Linked DNA regions of Homo sapiens: regions 1, 2 and 4 are each linked to region 3. Evidence: promoter capture Hi-C in 16 types of primary human blood cells and fetal thymus (Javierre and others, 2016). All regions are on one chromosome and are shown on one strand. Each heading gives the region's core, a stretch centred on a gene start or on the middle of the fragment in contact. The rest is flanking DNA. Distances are from core to core; before and after follow the strand shown.

Region 1 (2,918 bases), core at 179-2,678, 1.7 Mb after region 3:
GGAACTGTAGATGCCATACATCTAAACCTTAAATTAGAAGATTTGATATAATCTCCATCCCATCCACAACCTTTTAAACAATCAATTCATTTCATGCTCAGCTCATGGTAAAGAAGATTTCTGGAACAAACACAGATGAGCTTGCTCACTTTGCTGGACTGGGAACAAAACCAGTGACTTGCTTTGTTCTAGGGGCTCTCTCTAGCCCTGAGCCTTTTGGGGTCACTCTGGAAGGGTAGACCTGCAGTGACCATTGGCCACGGTCCCCTTCATGTCCTGTTGGTCCTTCATTTATCTACTCTCTTCTCCTCTTTTCCCTACTAGTGCCTCAGCCTCTGTATTTGATCTTTCTGTCTGTCAGGCTGATTAGCATACTTTGACAGATTAAAAGGCTAAGGTCAAACCAACAAACCCCTAAAGAAATACGGCTAATTATTGTCCTATGCTTTTTAAATACTTTTGCTCTTCAAATAATTTAACAAGCAATAAAATTCAACTTTGTATCCCAAGGGTTGTTTAATGTTGTATTAGAAAAATAAATCCTTTAACTTTCTGCATTCCATGTGGTGGGAGAGCAATGAACTGTTGTGGGGTTGTCAGTGGTAATCGTCTCCACTTCTGGAGTCTCTAAAGTGACACAAAATGGCAGACGGAGTCTTGCAAGCAGTGCCATGTAGCGACCTGTGGAAATGACACTGGTTTCGCATTCATACATCGTACCCATAGGTAACATCGAGACAGGAAGTATAGCTTACAACCCTAAGAGGCAGGGTAGTGCAGTGGCTAGGGCACAGACTCTGGTTGAGATTCCTTGGTTTGAATTCCAGTCTCATCCTGTGTGAACTTGGAGATGTCAGGGTGGTTGTTTATTTTCTCTATGCCCTGATTTCCTGATCCATAAAATGGGGACTTAGTTATAATAATAGTACATATCTCATCAGGTTGTTGGGAGAATTAAGAAGAATGGATTTGGAAGGATGCCTGAATTGTTCACTATCAGTAATTCCTTGGCTTGATATTCCCAACACTATTTTATGAGAAAGCTGTTAACCAATGTGATGCTCGGAAGTATACTACATGTATTGTCTCACTTCTAAAGAATTAGTCATCGGACGATATGCAAGGTAACATTGCCAACCCTCCTCCACTGCAGGTAAATCACTCCCTGGCCCCCAGACAGCACTGATTAGAAGCATTGTCAATCGTACTTCAGCCCTGCTACAAGCCAAGGCTAGGAAGACAAGGGTCGGGAATGCAGATGCGCAGTCCTACTCACCCTCCAGATTTAAAAAAAAAATCAATTTACAAGATGATAATGGAGTGAGGTTTATTGTGCTGCCCCTCAAACGACTGTACAATTCTGTGATGAGCAGTGGCTCAATACCAAGTGGCTCCTGGCAGGGCGGGGGCAGGCCTGGAAAAGAGCAAGCTGGGGGTGGGCGGGTGGAAATGCAAGGGAGTGAGGGGAGTGAGGAAGAGGCGAAAGCACTCAACTCAAAAGCTAATTACTCCACATATTTTGAAAGATAAAAACAGGATAGCCTCCAAGTAAGAGGCATCTAATAGCTCAAGAAAGTCTCCAGTGAAGCCGTTCACTACAGGTGAAAGGCCCAATTACCAGATCAAGTGGCTACATTATCAAAAATTATTCTATTGATTTCAGTGAGGTGCGTTTCCCTGCGATGATTGCCACCATCTGAAATTTCCTTTCCTGCTGATTTGGAACATGCCGCCCCATCTCCGTGCTTCAAGTTGTTCAAGATGCGTTCGCATGTGTGGGTAAGCACAGCTCAGCCTGCTGTGAGAGTCTGGTTAGCACAGGCTGGAAAGGCAGGCAGGCCGCCAGGTGCCCAGGGCCAGTGGCTCTGTCACTAGTAAGAAATTAGGTGCAACGGGATGTCATTTGCATAGGCACTTTCTGAGTTCTGGATTTCCCGCAATGTTTCCTACAAGGGATGCTACTTTGGGGAAAGGCCCCCATGAATCCAAGGTGAACTTGCAAACTTCAGTGGTCACAGCCTGGAAGCAGAAAGATAAAGCATTAAACTTCACACCTGGGCACCATAGGGGTGAATTGGGGTCTACATTTGAGGAAGGTGGGGAATTGGGAATAGAGATCTTTCTAATTTCATTCAAATTACCCAGTACTTTCTATTTCTAAAGAATATTGTGAGAAAAAGCACATTTAATCGAACAAGGTTCCAACCAAGTAAAAACTGGAAAGGAATCTTAGAAGTCATTTACTTTCTAGGAAAATCAAATGTTCTTTTTACAAATTTCAATATAATGCCATTTTAATAGTTCAGCTAGATAATTTCCTTAAGAATGTTTTTTTTTGGGGGGATCCAGAGATGAGTGGACAATTTCCACTTGCCTGTGGGTAAAAAGTGGAATGAATTCCATGCCTATCTTCCCTCCTACGTCTACCCACATCCCTATTTCCTGGATACTGTTCTTGGGTTCACAGTTGGTTAATGTAAAACCAGGCTGGAATAGGATGTCTTGCAGCTAATGTTTAAACTAAAGCCAAGAGAAAGCACCTTTCTGATGCTGGTGAACTTCTACCCCATATGGGCCCAGGGAGAGCTATTGTGTACACGAATAAAGGCACCAAGGCAGGGTGGTGCAGTGGAACTTTAAGCCAATTATTCCCGCACTTGCTCTCCATTGGCTGCCTCCTCCTTCCTGGGACTCCTCAGGCTGATGCCCAACATATTCAAATCTTCCCCTAAAAGGTTTAGTCTAGGTTGCTTCTTCAGTACTGTTTGAACATTAAATATGCAAATAATCATCATTACACTTCCAACAATTACACATGTTTGCGAGCACCGTGTCAAGTGCTGGCAGCAGAGCAATCATTTGTAAAGACAAATATTCCATTCCAAGAGATGTCATGCTGCTTAGAAGATTCTTTTTTG
Region 2 (3,028 bases), core at 29-2,528, 1.7 Mb after region 3:
CACTGTAATAATAAGTGGCACTTAAATAGCACTTTTCAAATTCAACATTGTGGTACTTTGCATTTATGTAGGCATTCACAGTTAACAGAACACTTCCTTATGAATTAGCTCTTTGGAAATGCACTAGAGGACCCGCCAGGAAGGCTGGACAGAGATGATCCTGTCAACCTAGGAGATAAGGAAAACACTGCTCAGAAAGACCAGACACCAAAGCCCTCACTATTGTATGTAGCAGAGACAGGCCCTTACTCAGCTTTCTTGGCAGTTCACATTCCACTTGGGACCATGAGACTGATGTTGTGTCATTCCATATGGGATGTATGTGGCTGTTTGCAGATTGGATGATTGAGCTGTAGGTACTTGAAAACACTTTTAAGATTTGATGCCTCTTTTACAATCTTTCAAAGTCAAACATTAGTTCTAGTAACTATTTTGAGTATATCTTAGATTAATACTGCAGTTTACAGTTGACAAAGTGCTTTCACATATATGAGGTCATTTGAATCTCACAAATTCATCAGCAGACACAAGATACAATCATCATATTCCAATTTTAGTATTTAAAAAATCCACAACCAGCTAGGTGGACAGATCCCTCAAGTTTTCTAAAGCTAGGAATGGCAGAGGGGAAGGGCTGACAAGGTTTTCTCATACAAACCAACTGTGGACACAAGGGATCTTCACCTTCCACATCATTCTAAAAAGAGGCCATTAGCCATGCAAATGTCATTTTACTTATAAAAATATTATCAGATGCCAGCCATGGGCTAGGATACAGTGTTAGCTAATGTTAACATTGCAGAAGTAATTCTCAAAGTCAAATTTCTAACTCTGAAGCTCCTTTCTTCGATTCTAAAAATGAAGAGATAGTGACATCGGAGTGACTAAATGCATAGGTTTGGGTATCAGTCTGACTTAGATTTAAATTCTCCCTCTGACCTGCTCCATGACCTTGCACTGGAGGTCAAGGTTAACTTTGCTTCTCTGAGCTTTAGTTTACTCATTTTAAATGTTGGATAGACAATCTCCATTAATAGACTTGTGTATTTCAGGAGACAAATGTGGAAATAAAGGAAGACTATCCAAATGAGATCAAGCAAATGCTATTTATCCAGAGATTGTCATAGCAAGGGAGCTGACCACCAGCACTTGAGTTTGACAGAGACCCAAAGGCAGCCAGAGGGCTGGGAAAGCTTCGTGGTAGAAAGCAGGGAAGAGGCTGTTGGTGTGGGGGAGCTGGAGGAGGCTAACTAGAAGCCTGGACTCCTATGTGATGCTTAGGGGGGCATGTTTGGGTTTCTCTAGCTGGTCCTAACTTGGAAGTGGGTGGGGGATGAGGATGGGTGGGAAATTAGGAAGCTTTTAATTATTTGGAGCTGGTTGTTCCAGGGGTTACTGTTCTGCTTTGAGGATTATTGCTAGAGATAGCGGTCTGACTGCCTGAACTTCTGACTTAAGGATAGCAGGCTGGTTCCTGGGCTGGTTGTTGTAGATAATAGGTTTGTTTCCTGGGCAGATTGCTGCAGATTATGGGTCAGAGTTCTATTTGTATACATGATCTGACAAGTGTTCATTTGTATGTTGAATCTCTCAAGAGGGTTACATAGATTCTTCCTTCAGAGCAATGATTTCATGGGCCTTCATCCGTTTCCCCACTCCCATGCCTGCACCAGTACCCCACTGTGCAGCTCACAGTGCCATTAGAATTATCTAGATGTCACATTCTTTTGTTTAAAACTCACACCTTTTTGCCTAAAGTTAACATCCTGATTCTATAGTATACCTCACAAGATCATCTACAAGCAGAGCCTACACACTGTCTAGCTTAGGTGTAACAGCCCTGGGGCGAGACAGTAAATTGACTAGCACAACTTGCAGCAAGCTCTCCATTTCTCTCCACACCAGTTTCTATACCCACAAATGAGGCAACCAGTAGAGCCTAGGTCATGTACACAGGGTTGTGAGCAGGAAAAGGGCTTAGCACCCAGGCTGCCTCCTGCCTCTCTGCTCTCATCTCCCCAGTCCATGCCTGGCCATCTGCTGCAACCCTATCTACATGATTACTTCCTCCTCCTTCTTTTTCATTGTGTTTCATCCATCCCATAGATTTTAGCCAATGATCAGTTTTCAATAAATACTTGTATAATTAATTTCCCTCTGAACATGTGCTATGTTATTGCATTTATCTAATGTCAAAACCAATACATTTAATGGTTTGAAAAGGCATTAAACTCATCTCCAGATTTAGAGAGGAAAGAGTGGCCATTCACAGATGTGCAAAGTGTCATGGGCATTCATGAAGATAATTAAATAATTATCCTCCTTTAAAGAGAAATATAGCATCCACATGGGTTTTTGAAAAGGTTAAAATCAATCCGATTGACTCTATAGGAGTCTCTACTCTTCAGAGAGGACTAGGGGAATTCAAGGGGCTCTTCCGGTCTTTGTTGCATTCCAATCTGCAAAAGGTGCCTCATGTGTAACAGCACAAAACAGGACTGAAGACGGCTCTAGGCATGGTGTGAACCAACATAAGGCAGCACTTTCAGAGCATCTGATGTTTAGGAAATTCACTTTGAACTTTGGCTTTCTTTTCCTCAGATATAGGGTCAAAAATCTCCTCTGCAACACCTGTGGATAGCAGATGGGAGACAATATTTCCAATGTGTAGCATTTTGCTCTCTATTTCTTGGAGTTTGTGTGTGCAGAAGGTAGAGAGGCTGAGGGGACAATGAAAGAAGATGATTAAGGGAGAGGATAACCAACTTGGGGGTTCAAGGTCAGTGTTTAATGTACCAAAAGGAAGCATTTTAATTTTAAGAAATTATGATCTCTATTTTGCATGAACTCCTCTTTCTTGGGAAAGGAGTTTTGATATCACTGTTTTGATTTTTAAATGTTTCAGAGTTTTGAAAGCAGACACGTGCTCCAAAGCTGGAGAGACCTGTGGGCATCTGCATCTCACTGGTGGTCGTCTGAAGGCTCAAAGCCCACCTCTGAGCCCAGATGCTGCTGACTTGTGCCCACA
Region 3 (2,884 bases), core at 85-2,584:
CGGCCGCCGCCGCCGCCGCCGCCGCCGCGCCCCCCGCCTCCCGCCTCCTCCCCCCCTCCTTCCCCGCCCCCGCCCCGGGCCCCCGCCGGCCCCGCCGCCTTCGCCGCCTCCTCCTCCGCCGCCGCCTCCGCCCCCGCCGCCGCCGCCGCCGCCGCGGCCCCCGGCTGCAGCTGCAAGGCCGCTCGGCAGGGCGCGGGGGTCGCCGGCCGGCCTTGGTCACCAGCAGCAGCAGCAGCCGCAGGAGCAGCGCTCTGGGGAGGGGGGCTCGCTTCTCGGGGTGCGCTCCGTGGCCACCCCCTTCAGGGGGGGTCGTGGCCGCCCCCCAGCCCCGGCGCGCTGGGCTCGCTCCAGCGGGGCTCGCCGGGCGGGGCGGGGACCTGCACTCGGGGCGCTCTCCCGGGACGCGCGGGCTCCCGCTCCTCCTCCTGTCCTCGGGCGAGCCCGGACTCTGCCCGGTCGCGGGGCTCCGTCCACCTGCTAAGTGAAGGTTTCACGGGAGATAACAAAGAAAGAAGCTGCTCCTTTCTTCCTTAGCCAAATTACGGATGACCAGCAACCGGCCCGCTCCTTCTCTTGTCCGCTCTCTCCTCTCCTCTCCTCTCCTCCTCAGGAACACATTTCACTCGTTTTCCCTTAGAGTAGTAAAACTTTTTCGTCCTTGAAGGCGTGGTGCTGCTGGCTGCTCGCGAGTGCGGAGAGGGGAGGCTGGCTCCTGCTCTCCCCCTCTGGTCCTCTCGTTTCAAGTTTTGTTCTGTCCTAGGAAAACTTCTTGCGATGGTGCATTTCTCTGAAGTTGCTATTGCCGGAGCTCTTGGTTGCCTCTGAAACAAGAGTCCTTTTTCATTCTCCTCGCAACAGTCACAGTCTGATGCGACATCTTTCCTTTTGGGCAGAAATTAGGAAACAAATATAACAAGGAAAAAATTGAACAGGAAAAAAAATGATGTCGAATCGCTCTGTTACCTTGTTGCTGACGGTTGGGGTTGGTGTTTTATTTTTTTCCCAGCAGTTGTCTGGAGAAGGAGGAGGAAGAAGAGTGCATTGGTGGAGGTGGAGGTGTGTGTGTGCATATAGGGGATCGATCCTTGATACACAACAACTCCAGTGGGCACGCTGCACGGCTCGTAGAGTGCACCGACGGCGGGCGCTGGCGCTGGCCGTGCTGGAGCAGAGTTGCAGCAGGAGCTCGCTCTGCGCCCTCGTTCGCGCTCTCTTTCCCTCTCTCACTTTTCCTCTCCCTCCCTCTCTCTCTCTCCCTCTCTCGGGCGCCCGCTCTCGCTCCGATCTGACAGTTCGCTCTCTGTCCCTCCCTCTCAGAGCGGGGACTGTCGAATGTTTACCCTCCGCCGCGAGCGCGCACCCACCACCACACTTTCCCAAATACAAGGAAGTCGAGCACCAGGGCCCCCGCTGATTGGCTACCCGCTGGGTGATTGGCAGGCTCGGAATGACTGGCTCAGGACGCGAGGCCCCCCTTCCGGCCGTTCCGATTGGTTGCTTTTTAATTTAGGCAGAGCGTCGTAGAAGCTGGAAATCTGTCGTCCTCCAGCCTCCCTCCCCCTCACCACTTTCCCCTCCCCGCCCCTCCCCCGCCGCCCCCTCCGCCACATCTTAACTCTTAGTGTCCGGCCCAGACGTTGGCGTTCCCTCGGCGGCTCTGGGCGTTCGCAATAGGTCTGGGCGGGGGGAAGAAAGGGGAGATAAAAGGGAGGGAGGGACGAGAGGGGGGAAGAGAATCAGAAGGAAAACGAAGGGGGAAACATGAAAAATAGCAACCTGCCCACCCCACCTAGTACGCGTCGGGTTGCTCACCCCCTTACCCCCGCCCCGCCAGAGATTTGTAAAGCGCGCGGCACGGATGTACCATTCAAGCTAATACCTATAGACAGATGTGTCCCCAGTGGTTTCAAAGTTTCCTCTTCCCTTCACCAGCCGGCCCCCTTCTCTGATCGGCGGGGGTGGGAAGCGGGGGCTCGCATCGCCAAGAGCTCTGGTCGTGGCCACGCTCCTTGGAAATCCGCCACCGCAACTTTCCGCAGCCGTTGCGCGCCGGCGGCAGCCCCCTTTGTTTAAGTTCTCGGATGCCATCATCTGGGAAACCTGCAGCCCAGGACCAGCGCGGTGCCCGCGCGTGCGAGACGGACCGCTCGCTGCCGCCGCTCCCTGGCTCCTCCACCCCCTCTCTCCCTCCTTCGCTCTCCCTCCCTTCCTCCCTCCTCCCTCCTCTGGGATTCGTGCAAGTAGCGTGCGTGCCCTTGTGAGTTTGGAGGGTGCCGGTCAGCGGAGCCGTGCGATGTATTTGAAAAGCAATCAGTCCGACCTTCCCCCATAGATTCATCGTAAGTGTATTCGACCCCAATGGCTTTAGGAATTCCCTGTGGCAGCAGGAGCCGGGCGAAAGAACCGGGATCGGCTAGCCGCGCCCTTCTCTGCTCCACCGCTTCCTCGTGTGTGTGTGTGTGTGTGTGTGTGTGTGTGTGTGTGATTAGCGGTGGGGGGGTTTGCTCGCTCTCTATTCTTAGGCATGGTGGTGCTTTTTTTTCTTTCCTTTCTGTCTCAGATGGATTTGCGTGGTGGATGGGGCTGGCGGCGACAAATGCTTTCTCAGCTCTAACCCAGCTGAAAGAGTTAAGGGGGATGGGAGGGGGAGTGCACCCGGTAGGCGAGAGAAGCGGGGGTGGGGTGGGGTGGGGTGGGGGGACGCGGCCAAGCGGAAACGCTGCACAGAGGAACCTCAGCGAACCAAGAAAAAAGAGAAAGTGGCAACGAAAACAAGGGCAAATTGAGCCCTCCTCGGGGATTTCCAATGAACTAACCCAACTCGGACATTCAATAAATACATGGCTCTTAATGAGCGTGCGTGTGCGTGCACCCCGCACCCCTA
Region 4 (2,992 bases), core at 284-2,783, 1.9 Mb after region 3:
TTTTCTTGCTATAATCATAAATGTGATCTTGCAGGGAGTACCATTTACCTTTTGATTGAGAGATCAACATTAACTGAATAATCATAAAGAAATGCTTCCTGAGAATTCTCTTGAAAACATACAAAGCCTAGAAGGGAGGCAGAGTGCAAAAGCTTAAGTGCTCTTCTAGCTCATGAATCTCAGGCCCATGTCTTATGTTTTTCAATATTACATTTTGTCCTGGACATTCCCCCCATGTGTAGGGAAGGATTGATGCAATTTCAGGCAATAATGAGATACCTGTAGTATTAGAGGACAATGAGTGGGGTCCTGTGGGGGAGGAAAAGCACTAAGCATTAGTCCTGCCTCTAAGCGTGACATCACCGTTACCAGCTGGGTGGTTCACAGGCACCCCAAACTCTCGGAGCCAGAGTCCGGCAGCTCCAAAATGGAAATCGCATGAAAGCCAACCTCACAGAATACTATGTTGCTACGGAGAAAATGTTTTAAAAGTAAAGCAAATTATAAATGTAACAGGCAGTCAGACGTGCCCAGGGTGTTGATCCTATGTATAGATCCAACACACAGACATTGATGTTTTTGTTGTTGGGCCAGGAAGAAAATGCTAAGTATGAATTTCCAGTTTTCTCCAGTCCCTTTCCTGTTGCTAAATGAAGATCATTCCATCATTGTGTATCAAATGCAGCATTTGTGAAAATACCTCCCGATCATCTTTCACAGGAATTCTTTCCAAGTGAGAAAGTAAGTAATGGGGTCATGGGCTTTCTGGAGTAATACAACCTAGGTTTCTAGTGTGATTTTGATCAGCAGATTCTATCCCCAGTTTTATTTGTGTGTGGGTAAGCTGCAATCTATGATTTCATGTATTTTCTGAAGGAAAAGAAGGAAACTTAGCTAAAGGTATTTTATCACATTTCATAAGAAGGAATCCTGGAATTCATGAGGAGTCATTTGAGATAGCCTACTGCTAACCCAAGCCAGGCAATTAATCATAACACAACAGACAGAAGTCGTGAATTGACAGTTAATGGAGCATACATTTAGGTAACAGCTTACACCTTCACTATCACCCTCTTCATCCTCTTCCTCATCTTCATCATCCGTGGCAAAAGTAGTGAAATGGAGGTGCAGTGATTCCTTCTGTTTTGGTTCTTAAAAAATATAAGTCAGTCAAATGTCAGCCCATGCCAAGCTTTCTTGTGGAAGATTTCAATCTATATTGAGAAAGGCTTCCATTGTCCTCTCTATCCTCCCCTAGATGTTTAACGTCCCGTGCTAACAAGTCAAGTCAAAGTGAGTTCTAATGCAGGAGAACACATACCAATGTATAGATTCCTCTTATTAAATTTCGGGGGTTTTGACCTTTCCAGATTACCTGACGTTATCCCAGATGTTGGCTGTTTACAGTGGGGCCTCAGTAACTCATGTTGGCATTTAACAAAATTTAGAAATATGGGAATTTTAAAAATGTTTTCACTTTTTTCAAGGAACTTTGATTTAACCTGAAGCCACGAGTAAACTCAGATGGGTAACAATTTTAACTAACTCAAAATGAGAGATCATCTGTAAATCATTAGGGTAGATTTTGGAGCAAAAGCAGAAATTTTTGCAATACCTTCTTTGGCAAAAATCACTCTGCCTATAAGTAAATTAGGGTGATAGTGCCATCTAGTTATTTGTGGCTGGACCATAGACAGCAACAAGGGGGAAATGTTGTATTAGCTCAGTGAATAAGAAAGAAATGCTTCATTGCAATGATAGAATAACCAATTGGCTGATAATTAAACTGGTCTGAATTTACAGTGTTCACAAAGGTCTGGGAATCAGCACAGCTCAGTCTTTGTCTCATTCCTCCATGACCCCTATAAGCTTTCTCATAGGAAATTTGGGAACAGAATTTGATGAATCTGGTTACAAAAAAGTACATCCCTGGTATATAAAATATTTTTCAAATGCTAATTCCAAAATGAATATATTAGACACGTAAGAAAGAAGATTGATACAGAAAATGATGCTCTGAGTCACTCTAGAGTAAGAAGTTACATGCATAAAATCTATCATATCCACACACACGCACATATACATGCACACATACGTGTGTATACATACGTGTGCACACACACACATTCTCACACACTTGCACAGGTTGAAATCTTGCACTCCAGCCTCTGTGGATAAATTGTGAATTCCTAACACACCCAAGATCAGATTGTAGACAGAATTTTGGCCCTCCCAAAGCACTGGTGACTGGCATTGCTCAGGAACTCAGAATGGTGAGCTTCCAACTAGGTTGCTACACTTCTCTATCCCTCTCTAAATGAAAAGAGGATCAATTTGTTCCAACTGTCCCTGTATTTTGGTTTGTAACTGAAGTTCCTTGCCTCACTCCTACAATTTCATCCCTTTTCAATTCTTTATGCTGTTTTTGGCCTTGTACTTACTTCCTTTTTGCTCACTCTTCGGGTGATTTCAAATCAGTTTTCAAAATATTTAGAGGTGATTCATTTTTCTATGTTCTTTTTTGTAGGCCACCATAAAAGAAGAAGGCCACCATTGTATTTATGAACTATGCCCTGATATATTTCAGGAGGCTGGTGAACACTCATTGTAACATTTAAGACTTTGTACAATTTAATCACATTCAGGTAATTCCATTTTCTAGATGGAATGTTTGAGTCTGTTTGGTTACCTGTATTCTGTCACTTCACTGTATCTCATATGTGTAGGGGGGTGGAAGAGGAGGAAATTGTGAAAATGGAAGAAATTTTGCTGCCTAGATTTTAGCTCAATGGATTTGGAAAAAGATTTGCTCCCCAGATTTGACCAAGATTAATAAGGACCACATATATTCAAGTGCAAATTTCATTCCTAATCATTCCCTCTTTAAATACGTGAGCCATACTGGGTTGAAAAAGCGGCTCTGAGTTTGATGTATCATCTGCTACAGAGCAGAGTTCATGTTGCTTCCATGTTGGTGCCTGGTGTGTTTTAT

Evidence for each region. The method cuts DNA at HindIII sites, captures the fragments that hold promoters and counts their contacts. A CHiCAGO score of 5 or more calls a contact.
Region 1: a contact is called between a fragment that was not itself captured here and the fragment with the promoter of POU3F3 in region 3, in 1 of 17 cell types (endothelial precursors). The highest score is 13.0, in endothelial precursors.
Region 2: a contact is called between a fragment that was not itself captured here and the fragment with the promoter of POU3F3 in region 3, in 1 of 17 cell types (endothelial precursors). The highest score is 7.0, in endothelial precursors.
Region 4: a fragment that was not itself captured here is called in contact with the fragment with the promoter of POU3F3 in region 3 in 1 of 17 cell types (endothelial precursors); the score reaches 5.9 in endothelial precursors.

The regions. Positions count from the first base shown.
Region 1 is chr2:103,166,699-103,169,616 of GRCh38, reverse strand. No RefSeq gene overlaps it. Among named protein-coding and RNA genes, the nearest start is that of LINC01935, 180 kb to the right of the region's middle. RefSeq lists a silencer at 453-556. The HindIII fragment of the contact is 4,318 bases long and covers 1-2,918 here.
Region 2 is chr2:103,140,336-103,143,363 of GRCh38, reverse strand. No RefSeq gene overlaps it. Among named protein-coding and RNA genes, the nearest start is that of LINC01935, 160 kb to the right of the region's middle. The HindIII fragment of the contact is 166 bases long and covers 1,196-1,361 here.
Region 3 is chr2:104,852,565-104,855,448 of GRCh38, reverse strand. POU3F3 (POU class 3 homeobox 3) reads right to left here and starts at 1,334. Exons shown (of 1, transcript NM_006236.3): 1 at 1-1,334. It also overlaps a transcript of PANTR1 not described here. RefSeq lists an enhancer at 1,141-1,730. The HindIII fragment of the contact is 8,766 bases long and covers 1-2,884 here.
Region 4 is chr2:102,968,590-102,971,581 of GRCh38, reverse strand. It overlaps LINC01935 (long intergenic non-protein coding RNA 1935), which reads left to right. Exons shown (of 4, transcript NR_135530.1): 2 at 595-741; 3 at 2,528-2,645. Among named protein-coding and RNA genes, the nearest start is that of LINC01935, 14 kb to the left of the region's middle. The HindIII fragment of the contact is 677 bases long and covers 1,195-1,871 here.